Regions from separate parts of the Homo sapiens genome. Here region 2 is linked to region 1. The links are contacts of gene promoters, found by promoter capture Hi-C in blood cells and fetal thymus (Javierre and others, 2016). All regions are on one chromosome and are shown on one strand. Each heading gives the region's core, a stretch centred on a gene start or on the middle of the fragment in contact. The rest is flanking DNA. Distances are from core to core; before and after follow the strand shown.

Region 1 (7,088 bases), core at 1,843-4,342:
AATATCAAACAGTGGCCAATGAGCTAGGTAGAAAACTTGGAGAGAGTGGTGTTCTACAAGCTGAATGAGAAGAAATTATTTCAAGGAAAAAATAATGATCAGCCATGTCAAATAATGCTGATCAGTCGAGGAAGGAAAAGACTATGAATTGAGTCCAAATAGAGCAGGAAAAGAACTAGAGACAGAGAACATTCATCCAACAAACAATGTGTGCCATCCTGGCCAGGCCCAGGTCTGTTCAAAGTAATGGACACACAACAGTGAACATGACAACCTAAATCAACACCTGGATGGAGCTTACATGTTAGTGGGAAAGGCAACATTATATATGTCAAGATACGACAAACTCTCAAGATATGTGGCTTTAAATGGGATAGCTTCTGTCCCATTACTTAAATTTCTTTAAGCACTTAAATTACTTTAATCGACATAATGCAAACAGCTCCTAGACCTATTTCCTTGATATTGGAAAACTAACAAAGAAAATTCGTCACCATTTCTAGCTGAAAAAGGGACCGGTCAAGGTGATTTTACAAAGTCAACTTCTTCCCTGTGGTCCAGATTCCAGGGTTGTAATACTCAGAGGGAGCGTTTAGTTGAAAGGTTTTTAAGATGGGAAAATGGCAATATATTTGTATGCTTACAGATTTGGCCCAGTAGAAAAGAAAAAACTCATGAGAGAAAGAAAAGTGGCTAGAGTAACATCCTTGAAGAAGCAAGAAGACACGAGTATATTGTACGCATGGCGCGGGGGGGGGGGCACCTCTCATGACAGCAGGGACATAGCAGTCACATAACAGGATGTAGATGGCAGATTATATGGCACACAGGGACATGTGGAGATTCTCTTCTGCTTGCTTCTATATTTTTAGGAAAATAAGATACAAAGTGATCAGCTGAGACTGGGCATGAAGGAGGAGGTTACTGAGGATTAAACAGAGAAGGGAAGGTACAAAATAGATTTCTAAGCAGGTTGTAGAGGATAGGTACAGGGAAATGCAGAAGTGGCACCAGGTAACATAAGAGGTTAGCAACTGGGAATTTAAAATGCGACCATTCAACACAGGCACAACTGACAATTCATAAGAACCAAGTCTCAGGCGTTAAGTTTTAAAAAGCAAACATTGCTAAGCAAATTAAAATTTGTTAAAACCACTTCCACTCAATTTTCTCCAAAGCTTTGAACAGAGCATGTGAAGAGTCAGTAGATGAGAGGCTTCTAATCTAGTTTCTACCATAGCTTTCTTTTGGCAGAGGCTTAAACCTTTCAGATTTTCTCACTTATGAAATAGGAAAGGTATAGTTTTCAGTCTGGTTAAGGTATCTATGATCAGTTAAGTTCACACAACTAATATCTGAGGGACCATTACCTGTTAGCATAGCTGCTTAGTCAGTACTGGGAAGATGTCTGCCTTCAAAGCACCCATTTTGGAGTAATCTAATCTAGCCTGATCTAATCCTGATTTTAACACTATCCGCAATGAACACAGCCAAGATTATCCAGGTTTGCTTTAGGCACAGCCTGCATCAATGTGAACACTGCTCTAACCTGGAGGAACCCCAGTTCCACAGTTTATTTGGAAGCATTCACATTTCCTTTTAGCCCAGCCCTTAAATTACTTTAATATACATAACCCAAACAGTTCCTAGACCTATTTCCTTGATAGTGGAAAAAATAACAAAGAAAACTAATCACTATTTCTAGCTGAAAACCGAACCCCTCAAGGTGATCTTAAGAAATCAACTGGCCTGCCACCGTGGCTGACGCCTGTAATCCCAACACTTTGGGAGGCCGAGGTGGGCGGGTCACCTGAGGTCAGGAGTTGGTGACCAGCCTGGCCAACATGGTGAAATCCCATCTCTACTAAAAACACAAAAATTAGCCGGGCGTGGTGGTGGGTGCCTGAAATCCCAGCTACTCGGGAGGCTGAGGCAGGAGAATCGCTTGAACCCGGGAGGTGGAGGTTGCAGTGAGCCGAGATCGCGTCACTGCACTCCAGCCTGGCGACAAGAGCGAAACTCCGTCTCAAAAAAAAAAAAAGAAGGAAAGGAAAGGAAAGAAAAAAAAAGGAAAGGAAGAAGGAAGAGAAACAAAGAAAAAGAAAGAAGGAAAGAAAGAGAAAGAAAAGAAAGAAAGAAAGAACGAAAGAAAGAAAGAAAGAAAGAAAGAAAGAAAGAAAGAAAGAAAGAAAGAAAGAAAGAAAGAAAGAAAGAAAATAAATCAATCAACTTTCCTGTAGTCCAGATTCCAGGGTTGTAATACTCAGGGGGAGTTGTAGGTACAAGGGCAAGAGAAAAGCACCTGGCACCAAAGCAGGAGAGCTGTTCTCCACAAGCATCATTCTCAATGCGTCTGAGTCATTACCTGGCCACAGGTCCTCCTGTACTGCCCATTTGCAGTTAGCAGCCCTAGCACTGTCCTCTGCGGGGGATCCTGGCCCAGCGGGGCTCTGGTGAGTATCTGACAAGCATCGGGACCTCGGGCCACTGTAGCCAGCACAACTCCACTCTTGGGGTTGCTGCAGTGCATTGCTTCAGACTCCACGGGCTGCTGCTACCAGGGAAAGAGAAACAGACAAGCTGTTTAGTCGATTCCGTCCACCCCGGGCTCCAAGGACACAGCGAACCTCTAGGAGGGAGAGCACCAAGCAATGGGACTAACACCAATTGCTGATCTTCCCAGTAATTATTGGGGCTGAAAGGGCAGGTGCGACCGCACAGGCGATCAAAGTTGCTCTGAATCAAAACAGTTATTTGAATCCCTGAGGGAGGCTTTTTATCCCAAGACTTCGTGTTGGGCTGGAAGGAGAGAAACATTCTGACAAGCCTCCAAGTCGGGATACTAAACCCACGTTACCTGGAAGACGAAATCTGGGAGCCCCGGTCCTTCCCAGCTGAGATACTCTTCTCCCCAGCCCCCAATAAAAGATCCAGGGTACATGATTGCGGGAAAGCCGGTCTCCATCCCAAGTGACGAGCAGGGTGCTGCGCTGCGGCCTCCTCCCACCAGACAGGAGGCCCCAAAACCTGCCTGGACCCCAAAGCGGGCCCCGCTCTTCCCGTCGTTATCTTTCTATGTGTCCGGAACAACTGGCAAGTGCACTGGAGGATCGCGGTTAAGAGGTGGCCGGCTGGGCGGGGCAGGGCGGGGCAGGGTTGGGCAGGGCCGGGCCGGGCCGGGCGGGGCAGGGCGGGGAAGGGCAGGGAAGGGCAGGGCACGGAAGGGCGGGGCGGGAAGGACCAAGTGTCGAGGGATTCCAGCCTGGGAGGCGGCCGGGCTTAGCGATGCGGCTGAGCTGCCCACCCGCGTCTGTTGAATCGGCCAATCAGCGGCGCCCCCGGACCTAGCGGGAGCGTTTCCATGCCGACCGCGGCAGGCGTGCGCTCTCCGGGGCCGCATCGCCATGGCGACCTGCTCACCTGACTCGCTCCGGGTGGACTCGCCGCGACCCCTGGGCGTTCAGGCCCCTGAGGGCCCAACGGGCGACGGCCCTCCAGCTCCAGCTGTGCGTCTCCGCCCGGGCGAGGTGGGGCTGACCGCGGCCGTCTGCACACGTCCCCTCTGGTCCGCGCCCCCGGCCTGGGAGGGCGGACTCGCCCACCCCACGATGGCCCCGGCTTTGGAAGGGACTGTTTCCGTGACCCGTTCTCCCAACAGCCGCTAACAACCCCCTCTAACGTCTCCTGCGCGGCCCGCTCCTGAGAACCCTGGCTCGGGAGAGCGACGCGGGGTCCTCGGGGCTGCGCAGGCTGCGGCGCCCTGCCCACGCTGGCCCGAGGGCGCGGCTCGCTCCGGGTCGGCTCACACACCTACGCTTCCTGCCGGGAGGCGGCTGGGACGCGGCGGGGCTGCCCCAAGTGCAGTCGCGGCAGTGTTGCGTCTCCATCGCGGGGGTCCTTGCGGGCCGCGCCTGCCCCGCCCGGCTCCCGGTGCATGTGGCCTGCGAGGCGGCAGAGGAGATGTGGGGATTTAGGGTCGCACGTCGTGCTCGAGGTCCCCACGAGAGGTCTTCCCCCGCGGGCTCCTGCGCAACTGCGTGAAGCCGGCCCGGGAAAGCCAAGATTGTGGCCCAGGAAGAGGAAGGAACGCGGGCGACAGAGCTGGGGCTTGGGACGTTGAGGGGGTCGGTGGCAGCTCTCCGGGCTGGGGGCCGGGCGGGCGGCCCGGCCGCGTGGGGAGAGGAGTCCCTGGGGTCCTTATACGGGGGGCTCCTGGAAACCCGGGGGCTCAGACGCCTGCATAGGTGACTGACAAGCCAGGTGAAATAATCGAACTTTATTTTTTTAAAAATAATATGTATATATGCACACACACATTACCAATGCTATAGTCTGTTACTACTTTTGCTTTTTTTAAAACATCCATCCCTAAATCTCTAAATCAGATCCAAAGTCTATTCAAATGGCCACTTTATGCAAGCAACGGTTATCACCGTTTTTCTAAGTGTGCGTTATTAACATTTTCACCAAGCAAACTGAGTGTGGACATTGCTTTAATGGGAAGATAGTAGTATTCTAACAAAAGCGCCGGTTGAAAGCCTTGCAGTTGAGGTAAATATTAAGAAGTTGGTAAGCATCTGGAGAATCAAGGCTGGATGAGGGAGGAACGCAGAAACGGATCTTGTTCAACATGAAACTCATTTCTATACGTTTGTCACAGACTTCTATTCCTTGAGAGACAGCAGTCCGCTTGCACCCCAGATTTCCTGTGCCTTTGAATATGAAGGAAACACGGGAATTCTGGTAACATCTAGATTGCCGCAACAGAGAGTCAGAGGCCAACGGGGACCAAATGCTCTGCTTCGAAAGGTGAATGAAAGGAGCATTTCTGTCCTCTTGCCTGACGCCACTATTGGATATCTTCCCGGGCGCCCTCCCCCACCTGCCAACAGTGTTGTTATTTCCTGGGTCGCTGAAGGACTCAGTGGCTAACTCCGTCTGGGACTCTACAGCAAGTCCTGCCAAGAGCCTGAGTCGCTTGGGAGCGGACAAGATTGGCTGCGCTCACGAGACCTGGTCCTTTGTACACCCCTTTTCATCTGATTTCCTTTGACAAAAATGACCGAAACCTCACGCCCTTTTCCTTTTCTCCAAAGTAGAGGCGCCGGCGCAGTGTTTGTTCGTGGAACCTGTCGTTTTGATCCACTTTTCTGGGATTGAAGCTGAAGCCAGTGTTGGAGTCGGGGCGTGCAGGGAGTGGGGAGCGCCCAACTCCTGCAGAGGCGGATCTGAGGCTGGTTTTTCTCAACTCAGATCTGGCCAGGACCAGATGACAAGGCTACAAAGGTGTCCAGTGACTTTCAGCCGTCTTTAGCCTTAAAAAAGCCTTAAGAAATAATAGTAACCAAATGAGACCTTCGGATAATTTAATACCCCTCCCCTTATCTGAATGGCTGCACCTTAATCCAGCCTTAATCTATATGAAATAGGATTATCATGAACATCTTTTTTCCTGTTCCATCCACTTTGCTAAACTTGGCAAAGGGAAGTGGTTAGTTTATGATTGTTTTATTGTGCTGTCTTAGAATTCTACATTGTCGTTACAAGCCTCTGGTCATATCTTAAACAGGAGAGTGAGTCCCATGAACTGATATCTATGTGTGCATGTAAATTCAGGTACGTGTATAACTTGTGCAATACTTATGGCTTTCTTGGCTTTAAAAAATATCTACACTGAGGCCGGGCACGGTGGCGTACGCCTGTAGTCCCAGCACTTTGGGAATCCGAGGCAGGCGAATCACGAGATCAAGAGATCGAGACCATTCTGGCCAACATGGTGAAACCCTGTCTCTGCTAAAAATACAAAATGTAGCTGGGCGTGGTGGCGCGCGCCTGTAGTTCCAGCTACTCAGGAGGCTGAGGCAGGGGAGTAGCTTGAACCCGGGAGGCAGAGGTTGCAGTGAGCCCAGATCATGCCACTGCACTCCAGCCTGGTGACAGAGCAAGACTCCATATCAAAAAAAAAAAAAAAGTCTTCACTGAATATTGTGTTCCAACGAGTAATGATTTATGACATAAAAACAAATTTAACTGAATAGGTGTTCCATTTTTACTTTAAAAATCTAAACTAAAAACTTGGCCTTAGAATTAAGAACAAAAGGAGCAGAGAGAGTAGAAAGGACTTTCTCACAAATTGCACAGTTTTAGTGGAATGCATAATTATAATGTTGCATTTAGCAACATTATAATCTAATCTTGATTTTGCTATGCAAATCAGGATTAGATTTGCATAGCAAAATAGGATTAGAACTCAAACATAAGTAGATTTTAATTTTTCCCATCTTTAAATAAACTATATATTTGGTAATATATTGAGAATTAAACAATATAATTGTAAATACAACTTTCTTTAATATCTAAAATATTTGGCATAACTTAAATACTAATATAACCCCTTTTTTTTTAACTTAAAAAGTTCATTGGTCGGCACTTCCAACCTGGCAGTGAATGCTCAACTAGCTTTAACTCTAGGATTAATTTTCAAAATAAGGATGACAGCTGAATTCTTTACTAGGAATTTTGTTGTTGTTGTTGTTGAGACGGAGTCTCGCTCTCACCCAGGCTGGAGTGCAGTGGTGTGATCTCGGCTCACTGCAAGCTCCGCCTTCCAGGTTCACGCCGTTCTCCTGCCTCAGCCTCCCAAGTAGCTGGGACTACAGGCGTCCGCCACCAGGCCCGACTAATTTTTTTTTTGTATTTTTAGTAGAAACGGGGTTTCACCATGTTACACAGGATGGTCTCGATCTCCTGACCTCGTGATCTGCCTGCCTCGGCCTCTCAAAGTGCTGGGATTACAGGCGTCAGCCACCGTGCCCGGCCCTTTACTAGGAATTTTTAAAACCCAAAAGTCCTATTAAAATCAATTCCCTTGTCCAAATTACAATTCAGACAGTCCTTTCAGTTTGTCAGCAATTACCCGGTATTTCAGAGGCAGTTTTTCTATTGCATTTGTTCATCCTAGCTAGTAATTAACCTCCTGTTGAAACATTTCAGTTTTTATTAATTAGTATGAAATCAGGTTGTTTTTCAGGATGAGGCTGAAAGAAAGATTTAAAAAAAAACCCGCCAAGTTTATTTAGGGACAGAGG
Region 2 (7,593 bases), core at 5,057-7,556, 130 kb after region 1:
ATTTATCAGTAGAAAAATATGAATACGCTAAGCTGGAATAAGCTAAAAGTACCAACCAATCTTGCATTGCAACAGTCAGATAGAAAAGGTGGCTGGTTTTCTCAAGCAGAAGTGCAAGAGCATGTATATCTGAGAGGCAAGGTTATAAACATCAGTAGGCTCTGCAAGCACAGCTTTAAAGCAAACAAAAGCTTTCATTTAAAAAATAACCAGTCTATGCTTCATGCCTGTAGTCCCAGCTACTCAGGAGGCAGAGGCAGGAGGATCACTTGAGCCCAGGAGTACAAGTCAAGGCCAGCCTGGGCAACATAGTGAGACCTCCTCTCTAAGCTTCATATCCTTAAGAAGAAATTGTAACATTATATAGTAAAACAATTTAGATGTTCATTTAAGAATGTTGCAAGATGAGTGGTAAAAATCAAGGGAATAATATATTTTTCCTAAGTTTTCTTTTTTTATGGTCATATTAGTTGATGGAGTTTGCACTGTAGCAAATTGCGTTGGAAAAGAACTAGCTCCACATGTCAAGAAGCATGGAAGCAAACTTGTTCCAGAATCTCTTAAAAAAGACAAAGATGGGAAATCTCCTCTGGATGGTGCTATGGTTGTAGCAGCAAGTAGTGTTCAAGGTAACAAAGGGCCCAGAATTTTAACTATGAAGGTCCGTTTGCTTTGGACTAGATTTACATCGTTTTAAATATTATTTTTACAGGATTTTCAACTGTCTGGCAAGGATTGGAATGTGCAGCTAAATGCATCGTTAACAATGTTTCAGCAGAAACTGTACAAACTGTCAGATACAAGTAAGTTGAATTTTATTTTAATGACTAAATCTCTGTTTTGTTGTTGTTGTTGTTTTTCTGAGAGGGAGTTTCTCTTGTTGCCCAAGCTGGAGTGCAATGGCGCGATCTTAGGTCACTGCAACCTCCACCTCCCAGGTTCAGGCATTTCTCCTGCCTCAGCCTCCCGAGTAGCTGGGATTGCAGGCACACGCCACCATGCCCGGCTAATTTTTTTTTTTTAGTAGAAATGGGGTTTCACCACATTAGCCAGGCTGGTCTCGAACTCCTGACCTCAGGTGATCTGCCTGCCTCAGCCTCCCAAAGTGCTGGGATTACAGGCGTAAGCCACCATGCCTGGCGGACTAAATCTCTTGTAGCATTTGTAAAAACCCATGACGGTCAAGATATTTTTATTAAGTATCTGATAAAATAATTTTTTTCACTCACTGCTTTTCTTAAATAGGGAGAAGAATAGTATTTCTAGTATAATAACAGAATTCTTGTCACTTTGCTTTATGTTACTAATCATTATAAACATTTGTTCATCATTACTGTGAAGAATAAGGTTATTTTTTTTAAAAGCCTGGAATTTCTGTATACCTTATTAACTGACTACATGTTTTTGATGGGTGATATCTGCCTGAAAAAACTTGAATTATAATTAAACTCTTATACCCCATGTTAATATTAGCCCACTCGGTATACAGACTGTTAAAAATTATGTCACATCTTACTTGACTCTGATTACCACTGTACATTTGTATTGGAATGGGTAGATGGTATATCTTCAATTTCATATATTAAGAAATGGACAAACAGAAATGAATGATTTGCACAAACTCACCTGATTAGTGTTATGATTGCTTTCTTATTTGGCCTTAAGGTCTGTCTCTGGAGAGTGGCTATAAATTCTAATCCTGCTGTGTTGTGGCTCAAGAGGAAAAAATCTCGTGAATGTTTTCAGTGTGCGTTTCACAGGATACTTCTTTATCCTGGCACACCCATGACCAGGTGTCCCTCTCTCAGGGAACTTGTTTATGGCAGATGCCCTTGTGGCTCTTTTCTGACCTGTGTCCAGTTTATTCCTACTAAGATAGCTACTCTCTAGGAGACCCTGACTAGGAGGAGAGCAAGGTTTGGGTGTGTTGGTCAGGTGACACACAGAGAAGGCAGCACAACCAAACACACGAAATAACAGAAACTTTTTATTACTCACAGACCCTTGAGAGAAGAGCGGTATGCATGAGGGCCAACAGGAAGTCTGGAGATAGCAGAGTGCTCAACCAGTGGGTGGGGCGAGGGTGGGTGAACAAGGGAGCACGAGCAAGGGAGAGGTGATTTGTGTGACTGCCTTCACGAAAGTCTATGGGTGTTCTTCCTTTGGCTTTCCAGTGGGGCCTGTGGATTGACTAGTTTAAAGAAAACAAGTGTGAACAGGGGAACATTTACATGGCTCTAGTTTTACATGACTCTAGTGTTGACCATTGGATTTTCTCGTGGTCAGCAGCTGTGGGGGTGTGTTGGGTTTTGAGTCAGTGAGATGAGAAACAAGTATACTGTATTGCAGACAACCGCATGGGGGAGAGAGAAGTTTTAACTAGGCCAAAGGTGGTGGGATACAACTAGGTTTCAAGCAACTTATGTCAGGCCTAAAAATAAATGCTGAAGCAACAACTATATAACAAATTTATACAAGTGGTATTGAAGGTGAGAGTAAAGCAGGGTCTTCTGCTTTTAGCTCCTTATTCTTTCTACCTGACTCTACTTTCTTTATACAATACTAGAAGAATCAAGGTCTAAAAAATAAATCTAGTATGAAGGACCTGAGTTGCTTTCTTAGCCTTGAATTAGTTTGGATCTTACTATTTATTTAGAAAGAAAAAAGAAGAGCAATATTGATAGTATTCACAACTCGTGGTTATTTATGTTAATTATCCACTTATTGACAGCATTTAGTTGAGTTCATACTTTTGTATTAGGCACTGTGATCATTGCTTTTCCTACGTATTAATTAATTTTCAACACTGTTATCTCCATTTTGCAGATGAGGAAACCGAAATGTAAAGTTAAATACCTTGTTAAAGATTACTCTCCTAGTGAATAGTAGAGCTGGGATATAAACCAAGTGTTTCTGTCATCAGAACCTGTGCTCTACAGTGCTAATTTAATTTCCATCCTTAATTGGTTCGATCTGCTCCGTCTGGGGCATGAATACATTTGTTTGTTTGTTTTAAGATAGGAAGTAGGAATTGCTTTATTTTTACTTTTTTTATAATTTCAACTATTATTATAGATTAAAGGGTACATGTGCAGGCTTGTTACATAGAATTTGTTGTGTGATGCTGAGGTTTGGGGTACAAATGATCCCATCACTCAGGTAGTAAGCATAGTACCCAATAGATGGTCTTTTAGCTCACACTCCCCTCCTCCCTCCCCGGCCTAGTAATCCCCAGTGTCTATTGTTGTCATCTTTATGTCCATGAGTATCCAGTGTTTATTTCCCATTTATAAGTGAGAACATGTGGTTTTCTGTTCCTGCATTAATTCGCTTAGAATAATGGCCTCCAGCTGCATCCATGTTGCTGCAAAGGATATGATTTCATTTTTTTAGGGCTGTGTAGTATTCCATGGTGTATATATTAGCATGTTTTCTTTGTGCAGTCCACTGTTGATGGGTACCTAGGTTGATCCCATGTCTTTGCTGTTATGAATAGTGCAGTGAACATGTGAGTGAGTGCATGTGTCTTTTTGATAGAACAGTTTATTTTCTTTTGGGTATCAAATGGTAATTCCATTTTAAGTTTTTTGAGATATCTCCCAAAAGTGGCTGAACTAGTTTACATTCTGGGACATACATACCTTTGAATCAAATCAAAGCAATGTGGCATATCATTTTGGAGTGTCAGTTTTTTTTTTTTTTTTGAGACGGAGTTTCACTCTGTCACCCAGGCTGGAGTGCAGTGGCGCAATCTTGGCTCACTGCAACCTCCGCCTCCCAGGTTCACACCATTCTCCTGCCTCAGCCTCCCTAGTAGCTGGGACTACAGGTGTCCGCCACCATGACCGGCTAATTTTTTGTATGTTCAGTACAGACAGGGTTTCACTGTGTTAGCCAGGATGGTCTTGATCACCTGATTTCGTGATCTGCCCACCTCGGCCTCCCAAAGTTCTGGGATTACAGGCGTGAGCCACCACACCTGGCCAGAGTATCAGTTTTACCAAGAGTTGAGAGATAAAACATACAATAGATCTCAAATTCTTCTGATAGAAATATGAAACTCAAGTCTTCCAACTCACTTCTTGTCACCTGTGGCCTGAACTCTAATATTCATTCATTGTTTTATGACCCTGAGGTTACTTTGGATCAGTCATAATTAGAAAAATAGTTCTTTATTTGTAGCAAGAACAGGAGAAATTCAGAAATGCCTTTCAGGCCAAAAGTGAATTATTTTTAGATTATCATATTAGAAAATAGGAAGTGCTTTGTTGGGTTTTATGGCCTACTCTAATGAAAAAAAAAAAAAAAAACTTACCTAACTACAATTAGCTTATTAAAAGTTTGGGATTCACATAACTAGGAAATACTGGATTTTAATGTAGATTTTGTACTTCTGGTCCTTAATGAGAACTTAATATGATAAATAGCATATTTTTAACAGTGATTCTCAGCTCATTTATTTCTATTGTATTATTGCTATTCTTTTTATCCTTTCTTCCAAAGATTCATGGAATTTAAATAAAAACCAGGTAAGTGAGAATTTAGTTAAGTAGCTTTGTATTTCTAACTATGAGGATGATTCAGTCTTAGCAGTAATTTAGTTTCTGCTATTAGAAATTTAGAAGGATGGGAGAGGCAGTAGGGAATAAAAGATTTTATCTAAGTAATACTGTTTCTCACCTTTGGAGCTAATCTGGCCCAAAGTAGAAAATGTCTTTTAAGAGAAGAAACTAAAAGTATTGAACCAGTAATAACTTAGTGATAGAACTGAAGAAATGGAAAAGCTTGTTGTACCTTTGTTTAATTTTGTTCTTATTTGTTTACATACACTTAGGTTTATTTACACTCTTCTGTATTTAAGTTTACTATCAAAAAGTATTTGATAGAATGACCATTTGTGGAGTACTCAAATCGAACTGATGGTAGTATAATAAGGGAAATTTGTGTTCTTAATTGCCTGTGATAAGCGATTGCTCTCCAAAATAGTTATTTTAAATGTCCTTTAATTTTATGCTTGGGAGAAAACCAAATGTATTATATAAACTTCCTTATCTGATTTCAGGTGGATAAGCCAGTACAAAGGATTAAATAACTATACTCTTAAAATTTTTAGCTAAATGCATAAAAAATATTCATTAAGATTCAGTTTATTTTTGTCAGTTACATTAATACTTTTGTCTTATATTTGGGGATGTGAAGACATACAGGAATAATGAAAAACAATAAGTAACTTTAAACCTGCTACACTTAATTGCGGTATAGTACCTATTCAATAATTCATCATTCTACATATGAAGCTTAAGTTTCACCTTTAAGCTTCTTTTATTCCACTTTAAAGTGTTTAAAGAATAATAATATAGCTTTGATAGTTAGATCTATTTTTATTTTCCCCAGCAATATTTTCTTTGAATATATATTTGTGGAACATAAGCTTAATAATAGACTTTTTTTCCTGTAGAAAATTTACTGTTTTATGGTTTTTGGTACTATGCTATAGTTAAGTGTAGCTGATTTATTGGTTTGTTTAGTGAAATTTAATTAAAATTCCTCCTAAATTTGCACTGGATGAAGGGGTAACTTCAATGACAGGTGTCATATTACCCAAAACCAGTTTTGTATAACTGAACACATTGGAGAAATTTCAGAAAAATCTGGTTCAATTGTAGTTTTGAATCTCGTTGACTTATTTAGGCCTACTTCACATTCATTTTTTATTATTTTTCAATTGGTAGTGTTAGTATATAAAATCCGACTTAATGAGCTCTAATTAAAGTAAATTTGTTTAAAAATAAGAGATCAAAAATAAATTTAACTTCCTCCCAGACATATGCTTTCTAGGAGTTTATAGCAGTATAGTTTGAATCTGAAGAAAAGGACTAAACAGTTATTTATGAAGAAAAGAACATATGCCTATTAGGAAAACTAGTTCTAAGGCATATTGGAAAGCAGGAGTGATAGTTGAGGATATATTAAAAAATAAATACAACTGATGAAAAGCTGTTTTATAGTATATTTAAAAATACATGTTTAGTATTTTAGAATTTTAAAACTGCTTTCACACATATACATCGTTTTTTTGAGATAAAGAAGAGAAAGTTGATGATATGTAAAGAGGTAGAAACTTGACCAAGGTCATATGGCTAGTTACTGGCATAGTTGGCATTAGAATCTAGTTTTCTGAATATTCTGTTTTTTTTTCCCAAATTAATAGGAATTGTTACTGACATTGGAGATAGCATAGAAAAACAGACAAAATTAACAAGGTGCAAAACAAATTCATTTTTAGTACGTTATTAAAGACAATGTAGTTTTTAGAACTGTGTTACATACAGAAATATGAGTGCAGCTGGAGGTATCAAACTGTATCAGTGGAATAGGGAACATTCCAAATTCTCAGAAGTGGAAGTTTGTGAATATGGAGGATTTCCTATGCTTGAAAACATGACTGTGAGTTATGTTGTGAGTTATGTTGAGTTATGGTGTCACTTCATTGTAGCTCACATGGTTCTGGAAAAATAAGCCCTCAGGGAAACCGGCTCCACCAAGAGTTACGGTCACTGTTTTTCAGTGCTGAAACTGCTGATACCTTTCTTTTTGTATAGACACAGCCATTACCACCTGACAGTAGTATTTGTTACTGGGGCTTGGTTGACAATGAGAAGGCACCATCAGCAATGGTGCATCTCCTGCACTATCAGCAAATCCTGTGGAATGCTGAGGGGTTGCATAACAGGGACTGTCCGAAGCAGTTGTAGGAAGTTTTTCTGTCTGTTGACTGGTGAGAAGGCCCCCAATTAAGAGTAGTACAGACTTGGAAGGTTTGACAGACTAGGCTCTGCTGTGTGCTAGCTCTAATATAATTATTAACATTAGGCAAAGGACAGAATAGAATCATCCTTTAGGGGCACTATAAGATTATTTCACACTGGGGTTAAAAAAGCCAAGCACAAACAAGCCGGTGGGATCACAAACCACTGTTCTAGGCCAGGCTATTTAGTAATAGAGGACTTGTTAATTCAAAAGGCAGATCTAGTGTTATATAAGATGTCCAGATATAGGTCATAAAGCATCTAGGAAACTTCACTGTGTCCTGGAGAAAATGTAAACTTTTGCCTCTTTGTTTTGTTTGTTGTTTAAACAGTCCTCTATTTGGGGGAAATCTGTGGACAAGAAAAGCTTTAAAAGCCTGTTACCAAAATGGGGTAAAGAGTAAAACAAAACAGTAGGGAAATGTGTTTTGGTGTGCCTGTATAGGACCTCAAATTGTATTTTATCATAGAAATAGTATTAAATGCAGATATTATTATTATCAATAATAACTTCTTTTGTATATGCTTTATAATTTCCCAAGCACTTGCTATGCATTTGATGCTCAAAAAACTCTGAGGCAGATAGGGCAGGAATTACTGATTTCATTCATTCAGTGAATATTCATTGAATATCAGGTACTATTCTCAATGTTTAGGATATGTTAAAGGACAAAGGTAAGATTCTCCTCTCCAATAGGGTTTACATTCTAGTGAGAGAAGCAAGACATGAACAGTGATAATTAATAAGTTCTATAGTATGTAGAAAGTGGTAAGTAATGGGAGA

What was found. Contacts are between HindIII fragments. The CHiCAGO score rates a contact against its expected background, and 5 or more counts as called.
Region 2: a fragment that was not itself captured here is called in contact with the fragment with the promoter of CCNA1 in region 1 in 1 of 17 cell types (M2 macrophages); the score reaches 6.1 in M2 macrophages.

What each region holds. Positions count from the first base shown.
Region 1 is chr13:36,428,499-36,435,586 of GRCh38, reverse strand. It overlaps CCNA1 (cyclin A1), which reads right to left and starts at 3,092. Exons shown (of 9, transcript NM_001413923.1): 1 at 2,858-3,092; 2 at 2,366-2,554. The coding sequence starts at 2,530. RefSeq lists silencers at 3,199-3,358, 3,389-3,438, 3,719-3,788. The HindIII fragment of the contact is 15,627 bases long and covers 1,181-7,088 here.
Region 2 is chr13:36,305,355-36,312,947 of GRCh38, reverse strand. It overlaps SPART (spartin), which reads left to right. Exons shown (of 9, transcript NM_015087.5): 7 at 471-629; 8 at 713-803. Among named protein-coding and RNA genes, the nearest start is that of CCDC169-SOHLH2, 11 kb to the right of the region's middle. The HindIII fragment of the contact is 1,745 bases long and covers 5,434-7,178 here.